Linked DNA regions of Homo sapiens: region 2 is linked to region 1. The links are contacts of gene promoters, found by promoter capture Hi-C in human tissues and cell types (Jung and others, 2019). All regions are on one chromosome and are shown on one strand. Each heading gives the region's core, a stretch centred on a gene start or on the middle of the fragment in contact. The rest is flanking DNA. Distances are from core to core; before and after follow the strand shown. Region 1 holds the start of CER1 (cerberus 1, DAN family BMP antagonist). Region 2 has its middle 90 kb from the start of ZDHHC21.

The links. The method cuts DNA at HindIII sites, captures the fragments that hold promoters and counts their contacts. A contact is called where the count stands out against the background at its distance.
Region 2: a fragment that was not itself captured here is called in contact with the fragment with the promoter of CER1 in region 1 in 3 of the 25 tissues and cell types used here (dorsolateral prefrontal cortex, hippocampus and stomach).

Annotation. Positions count from the first base shown.
Region 1 is chr9:14,719,962-14,723,999 of GRCh38, reverse strand. It overlaps CER1 (cerberus 1, DAN family BMP antagonist), which reads left to right and starts at 1,267. Exons shown (of 2, transcript NM_005454.3): 1 at 1,267-1,834; 2 at 3,614-4,038. The coding sequence starts at 1,328. The coding sequence ends at 3,910. RefSeq lists enhancers at 242-1,179, 1,180-2,119. The HindIII fragment of the contact is 6,126 bases long and covers 1-2,408 here.
Region 2 is chr9:14,600,975-14,605,471 of GRCh38, reverse strand. It overlaps a transcript of ZDHHC21 not described here. Among named protein-coding and RNA genes, the nearest start is that of ZDHHC21, 90 kb to the left of the region's middle. The HindIII fragment of the contact is 3,974 bases long and covers 1-3,474 here.

The sequences.
Region 1 (4,038 bases), core at 18-2,517:
AAAGGGGGAACATGTTCCAGGACTATTTGTGTTATTGAAAGCAAGGAATATAGTGATTGAATTAAAAGGGGAGAAATAAAAGCAGATATTGCATTGCTTCCCAGTGGAAATACTGTTTGAATCATGTGGTAGGCTGATCGGACTCTATTCTGGGGTTTCAGTTTTCTGGACGTGTTTCTTTTTCGTATCCTAGGCTGATTCATGATAGTTTTGAATGATAGTTATTTTTCAATTTTTCCTTTGATCCCCGAAGACTCTTATTTGTGTCAATCTTTATTTAGCCTGGCCATCAATTAGTGTAAAACAAGGGGAGATGATGTGGATTCAATAAGGTAAGAAACTGACTAGCCAGCGTCACACACAAAGTTATCAAACCTGGTTCTTAGAATCCACGTTCTCATGTCTGGCTCTTTGTTCAAAGGGAAAAAAAAATCAATAGGATGGCTGGAGGGAGACATTTCCCTATCCTCATTGAAGACTGATGAGCTGTCAGTCTATTACGTGGTATCCTGTTGAGGAACATGTGAACAATTGGAAGAGTTTATCTGATGACTGACCAGTTGTGAAATTTAGCACCCATTAATTGATTCTTAATGTGAGAGGATTAACTTGGGAATTGTGAGTTTCTACGTGTGGAAAGGAAAACATATTCCCTTTACTCAGTTACTGTGCAAAAATCAATAACCCCAATTTGCATGTAAGTAAGAAACAATATGTCCCTTGCTCAAAAAAATTAACATCCTTCTAGCTCTTCCTTTCTTCTCCTTACAACTTTGATATACTTCTTCGTGTGTGTGTGTGTGTGTGTGTGTGTGTGTGTGTGTGTGTGTGTGTGAATAGCCTTCCTAAAGGCCTGGGCTTTTTCTAAATGTATGCCTTTAATTTTTATCCAAAAACTTCTCTTACAGCAACATGTCTTGTCTATTCTATTCCAGCACAAGGCAGATGCACAGCAAATGTGAGCTGACTCTAGTCCTTCTTCTGAAAACAGCCATGGGAAATTTAGGCAAAGAATGTGTTGTCTTTGCTAATACTGCTCTTTAAGCCCCAGACATAGCTAAACTCTTAGCTAATTACCCCCTGGGTCCCAGGCTTTCACTGGGGCCTTTTAAAATACACAAAACCAAAGTGACGGCAGGAGGCCATTAGCACTACATAATTCAAGCAAACAATAAATGTGTTTATTCTGCCTGGCTACTGACCACCTGCCTTCCCATCCCGCCAGGCAGGTATCTATATATACGATTTCCTTTTTCCCAGTCCTGCAGAGAATGAGCCTCTCCTTTGGGCCTCATCATTTACAAAAGAAGCTTGGGCCCCTGACAGCATGCATCTCCTCTTATTTCAGCTGCTGGTACTCCTGCCTCTAGGAAAGACCACACGGCACCAGGATGGCCGCCAGAATCAGAGTTCTCTTTCCCCCGTACTCCTGCCAAGGAATCAAAGAGAGCTTCCCACAGGCAACCATGAGGAAGCTGAGGAGAAGCCAGATCTGTTTGTCGCAGTGCCACACCTTGTAGCCACCAGCCCTGCAGGGGAAGGCCAGAGGCAGAGAGAGAAGATGCTGTCCAGATTTGGCAGGTTCTGGAAGAAGCCTGAGAGAGAAATGCATCCATCCAGGGACTCAGATAGTGAGCCCTTCCCACCTGGGACCCAGTCCCTCATCCAGCCGATAGATGGAATGAAAATGGAGAAATCTCCTCTTCGGGAAGAAGCCAAGAAATTCTGGCACCACTTCATGTTCAGAAAAACTCCGGCTTCTCAGGGGGTCATCTTGCCCATCAAAAGCCATGAAGTACATTGGGAGACCTGCAGGACAGTGCCCTTCAGCCAGGTATGTGTTCTGGGGGGAGAGCAGGTAAGAGTTTGCAGGTGGTAGTGGACAGCTGGGATGGATGGAGAGTAGGGGAAAAGGCTGTCAGGAGCCTGACTCTAGCTTAACTACAGATTTGGTCCTTGGGCATTCATCATAGGATTTGGCAAAGATTAAGTTTCCTTCTGGCCTTTCCATTTTTTCTTGGCATTGTGGAAATGCTGCAAGAATGATATGATGATACTGTCAATATCAGTAATCATTCATTCACACTGAAGACACAGAGCTCTGTTTTATTTATTTATTTTTGCATTGGAGGTGATCTACTCAGAGATATAAGTCAGACTGTACCCTCAGTTAGGAAACTGAGAATTTAGAGTAATCACCAGAACTCCTCTGTAGCTATCTTTCTGCACTCTATTAATATGTGGATGAGCAGGTCAACTCCATTTGTTGATAAAGTGGGGTGCATTGGACTCCTTCCCAAATACTCTCATATCCATTTACGATGGTCTTAATCCCCATAGTCCATACTTAATTACTTTATAGGTTTATGAGGGACTTCTTTAATAGCTTGCTAAAGCTATCCCACAACCTCAAAGTACGTTGAGGTTCTCAGGCAAAAGTTGTCATATCATTTCTAGTATTATGATAGCAAAAAAGTGATTTTCTTTCACTTATTTTCTCATATGAGCTTTTTAAAAAATCAATCTTGATGTGAGATCATATCTCCTCCCCTTAGAAGTACCTTTCTCCTGATTCATGTTGTGTTGGCTGATTTGTAGTTATTATGATCAATTCCATGCTATTAAGACAAAGGGACATCCTACTGTCTACTTCCTCTGGCAATATCTACATTCCAAATGTTAAATTAAAATTGAGAACTTGCATTAGGTCCTTAAACATGAAGATATTGAACCAAAAACATGCAGGGTAGAGTAAAATTTTATAGTCGAGTAATGCTACCCAATTAAGCAAGCAATAGAATAGGGCAATTGACTGTTCAAGGCAGTTAAGTATTCTGCCTGAAAAGGCAAGGATATGTAGCAATGGCAAGTCAATTATCAAATAATAATGACTACTCTGTTGGCCATGTGCAATTAGAAAATTACCCCTAAGAATCAGGCAATCAAATTTCTTTTGAAATTCTTCTTTTGAATTCTATTGCTAATTAAATTAAAACTAAGATGTTTGACTCTTACATATTTTGAAAGGCATATAAAGCTAGGTGCTTGGAGTTATGAGAGGTAAAGGTGATGTAATATACAATGATTTGCAGGCATATGCATTGTAACTCTGCTTGCATACAACTTCATAGACTTGAATGTACTACAGGTCTTGCAGAATAGGATAGAATTAAACCTAGAATGTTCTGATCTATTCTACGATCAATGTAACAAATATGTATTGGGAGCCTACTATGCACAAAGCCCTGTGAGGAATAAAAAAGTAAGGCACATTACTTATGTAAGATAATTACCATTAGAATTTTTCAATCGCTCACATCCAATTAGACAAAATTGCTTAAGGTTTTGCACGAATAATGTAGAGTAAAATATTTTTTATGTTAACTTAGGGATTCCCTAAAGGCTGTTTAATAATTTACTCAATAAAGAAAATTTAATTGAGGTGGTTCTGTGCCCTTATAGATACCATCACTTGCATATTGCAAATTGTATCCAAAATTGGAAAGCTTTGAAATTTTTAAATTATCCTCAGATTTACAGTCCATAGCTTCTGCATTATGTGTGTTAAAGAAATAATTCAAAATAACGTAATGGAAATGTGTTTGCTTTTTAGACTATAACCCACGAAGGCTGTGAAAAAGTAGTTGTTCAGAACAACCTTTGCTTTGGGAAATGCGGGTCTGTTCATTTTCCTGGAGCCGCGCAGCACTCCCATACCTCCTGCTCTCACTGTTTGCCTGCCAAGTTCACCACGATGCACTTGCCACTGAACTGCACTGAACTTTCCTCCGTGATCAAGGTGGTGATGCTGGTGGAGGAGTGCCAGTGCAAGGTGAAGACGGAGCATGAAGATGGACACATCCTACATGCTGGCTCCCAGGATTCCTTTATCCCAGGAGTTTCAGCTTGAAGAGCTATCCCACTATTACCTTTGAAAAGCAAAACCACAACAGCAAAGATGCTGATTATTCAGTCTGAAAATGTTAAGTGGGTACATAACATTTTCAGGGAAAGGTGACTTGAAACGTAGTTTTAAAT
Region 2 (4,497 bases), core at 238-2,737, 120 kb after region 1:
ATGACCAACAGGTACGTGAAGGGATGCTCAACATCACTAATAGAGAGATGCAAAATTACAACGAGGTATTATCTCACAACTGTTAGAATGGCCATTTGAAAAAAATAGTGTTGGTGAGGATGTGGGGAAATTGGAACCCTTATGTACTGTTACTAGGGGTGTAAAATGGTGCAGCTGTTTTGAAAAACAGTATGGAAGTTCCTCAGAAGAATTAGAAATGCTATATGATTCAGGATTCCCACTTCTGGATATTAAAAAAAAAAAAAATGAAACCAGGATCTGGAAGAGATATTTGCACTCCCCATTTCATTAATGCAGTATTCATAATAGCCAAGAGATGGAAACAACCTAAATGCCCATTGATGGTTGAATGAATTTAGAAAATTTAGTATATACGTACAATGGAATGTTATTCAGCCATAGAAAAGGAAGGAAATACTGTCAGATGCTGCAGCTTGAACCTTGACAACATTTTGCTAAGTGAAATAAGCCAGCCACAGAAGGACAAATACTGCATGATTTCACCAATATGAAGTATCTAATGTAGTCAAACTTATAGAAACAGTAGAATGGTGGCTGCTGTGGGGAGGGGGAATTGGGGAACTGCTGTTCAAAAGGTATAGAGTTTCTGTCACGCGAGTTTAAAAAGTTCTAGAGCTCTGTTGTATAACATTATGCTTATAGTACTGCACTATACTTAAAATTTAACAGTACCGTACTGTATATTTAAAAATTTACTAAGAGGATTGATCTCATGTGCTTTTTGCCACAATAAAAAGTAATGTGAAGTATGAAAAATAATAACTGGAGAGTTTACTAAATTTGTGTAATTAAAAATACCAAGATTAATTACATGCTAATGTTTTGCTTTTTTCAGTTTTCTCACTTTGTTTTCTAAAAACATGCAATGTTACAGATACATCTAAGTCCTCAACCTGCAGTTTTCCTCCCTAGAGGTAGCCGCCATCCTAAAGTCAGTGTGAATTATTTTCATGAATGTTTTTGTGCTTTTATGATGTATGTAGCATCCATAAATGATACTATTTTCAAATTTTACATTTATGTAAATTTTAATCAGCATCACATTTTTTAAACAAAACATCTTTATTAATGTAGATTTGGGCCATTCATTATAAATCCCACAGAACAATTATTTGAATAAACTGTAGTTTATATATTATTCACTAAGTGGATTATTTCCTTTGTTATTAACTTGTTCAAAGAGAAGTGAAATAGTGGAATGGTAAGGTATGTGCATCTTCAACTGTAAAAGCTTTCCCAAATTGCTCTTTAGTCAAACCAATTTACACTCCAACCAACATATATATTGTTTCATCTTCCCCCACATCCTCACTAACCCTATGTAATGAGTTTTTCCTATTTGTTATTGATACATATTTTTGCTGCTTCCTGCATCATTTGTCAGTCCAATCGATTTGCCAGGAATCTAATGTAATTTTCTGGAAAAAGTCTTTGTAAATATCGAGAGAAAAAGTGAATAAAAACATGACTCTAATAACTCAATAATTCATGAAGGATATATTTTCTTAAGGCAAATCAAGGGATGAGTCAACATCTACGACTATAAATATGAATAAAAAATTATGCTCTTATGAGGTAGCCAGAGATAAACCACATTACTGAATACTTAGAGTTCGACCCCTCTAAAGTTCAGGATCCACTTGATTGTATTTGTTTCTTAATAAAGAGCAGCGATTCCCTTTTTCTAAATATTTCACAGGTAGATAAATTTGTAAAGTCCTTATAAAAATAAGTATTGCCTGTTGAGATCTTATTTTCATATTTTATTTATCTAGCAAATCAAGATTAGCTCAGTAATTTATATATCACATGAGGGTAGATTAACGAGCTTTGGTTGCGTTTATGTAAAAGTGGTTGAATCCAAATCTTTCATGTTACGGTTGTGCTTGTTACTGGGTCTTCATAGAAGTAAAAACCACACTGGGGAAAAATACCACAACAATTTTTTGTTTAGCACATTTTTTCACATCTGATTTGCAGTGTCATTTGTGTCCTTGAAGTATAGCATGCATTTAATTCTTCCAGTGGTTATCTTAAAAATTTCAGGAGGATTTACCTATATATTTCTAATTGTAATATTCATGTAAGAAATGGTACCTCAAATAGGAGGTAACTCCTCCTATTTGACATAAGAATTTATGTTTTTATTTCCTATCATACTTTTAAAAATATAATTTGGAGTTTAATACATTATTTTCTGTCTTCCATTTTTAAAGTTCACTTTATTGAGGGATAGTTTAAACACAACAAAATGTATTCATTTTAAGTACATTTCAGTGAGTTTTTAGAAATATGTATATCCATGTAGCTATCAACATATTCAAAATATGGAATATTCAATCACCCAAAAAGTTTCCTCAGGCCACTTTACTGCTCCCCCTCAACTCCCACCCCTCCAGGAAACGCGGACCTGTTTTCTGTGACTGTAAGTTAGATTTGCCTTTTACAGAATTTCGCATGAATGAAATTCTCCCTTTTTTTTTTTTTTTTTTTTTTTTTTTGAGATGAAGTCTCTCTCTCTGTTTTCCAGGCTGCTGGAATGCAGTGGCATGATCATAACTTCACTGTAACCTCGAACACCTGGGCTCAAGCAGGCCTTCTGCCTCAGCCTCCCGAGTGGCTGGGATTATAAGTGCAATTCACTGTGCCTGGCTTTTGTCCTTTGTTTTTCACTGGCTTTTGCTCAGCATATTTTTGAGATTCATTCATGTTGTGAGTATGTTTCTTTTCGTTTCAGCAATTTAAAAATGTCATCCCATTTTTTCTGACCTATAAATTTTCTACTGACAAATCTGTTTGTCTGATGGGGATTTCCTTATATGTGACTTGATGCTCTTCTCTTGCTGCTTTTAGATTTATTTCCTTTGGCTTTGGCATTTGACAGTTTGACTATATGGTGTGTGCATTGGAAAAGACCTGTTCAGGTTTAATATACTTGGGAATCACTGCACTTTGTCTATCTAGATGCCTGTATCTCTGGCAAGACTTGGGAAGTTTTTAGCTATTATTTCATTAAATAAGTTTTCTGTGCCTTTGGCCATCTCATCTCATGGAACTCCCAAGATGCGAATACTTTGTCACTTTATGAGGTCCCTTGTGTCATTGTAGGCTTTCTTCATTTTTTAAATTTGACTGAATTATTTCAAATGACCTGTCTTCAAGTTGAGAAATTCTTTCTTCTGCTTGATCTAGTCTATTGTTGAAGCTCTCTATTGAATTTTTTTATTTCATTCATTGAATTCTTCAGTTCCGATATTTCTGTTAGGTTCTTTTTATTATTATTATTATACTTTAAGTTCTGGGATGCATGTGTAGAACATGCAGGTTTGTTACATAGATATACACTTGCCATGGTGGTTTGCTGCACCCATCAACCCGTCACCTACATTAGGTATTTCTCCTAATGCTATCCCTCCCCTAGCTCCCCCACCTCCTGACTGGCCCTGGTGTGTGATGTTCCCCTCCGTGTGTCCATATATTTTCATTGTTCAACTCCCACTTATGAGTGAGAACATGTAGTGTTTGGTTTTCTGTTCCTGTGAGCGTTTGCTGAGAATGATGGTTTCCAGCTTCATCCATGTCCCTGCAAAGGACATGAACTCATCCGTTTTAATGGCTGCATAGTATTCCATGATATATATGTGCCACATTTTCTTTATCCAGTCTATCATTGATGCACAACTGGGTTGGTTCATAGTTTTTGCTATTATGAATTGTACTGCAGTAAACATACATGCACATGTGTCTTTATAGTAGAATGATTTATAATCCTTTGGGTATATACCCATTAATGGGATTGCTGGGTTAAATGGTAATTCTGGTTATAGATCCTTGAGGAATTGCCACACTGTCTTGCACAATTGTTGAACTAATTTACACTCCCACCAGCAGTGTAAAAGTGTTCCTGTTTTTCCACATCCTCTCCAGCATCTGTTGTTTCCTGACTTTTTAATGGTTGTCATTCTAACTGGCATGAGATGGTATCTCATTGTTGTTTTGATTTGCATTTCTCTAATGACCAGTGATGATGACCTTTTTTTCATGTGTCTGTTGGCTGCAAAATGTCTTCTTTTGAGAAGTGCCTGTTCATATCCTTTGCACACTTTTTGATGGGGTTGTTTTTTTCTTGTAAGTTGGTTTAAATTCCTTGTACATTGTGGATATTAGCTCTTTGTCAGATGGGTAGATTGCAAAAAATTTCTCCCATTCTGTAGGTTGCCTGTTCACCCTGATGATAGTTTCTTTTGCTGTGCAGAAGTTTTTTAGTTTGATTAGATCCCATTTGTCAATTTTGGCTTTTGTTGCCATTGCTTTTGGTGTTTTAGTCATGAAGTCTTTGTCCATGCCTATGTCCTGAAAGGTATTGCCTCAGTTTTCTTCTAGGGTTTTTATGGTTTTAGGTCTTACAGTAAGTCTTTAATCCATCTTGAGTTAATTTTTTGTATAAGGTGTAAG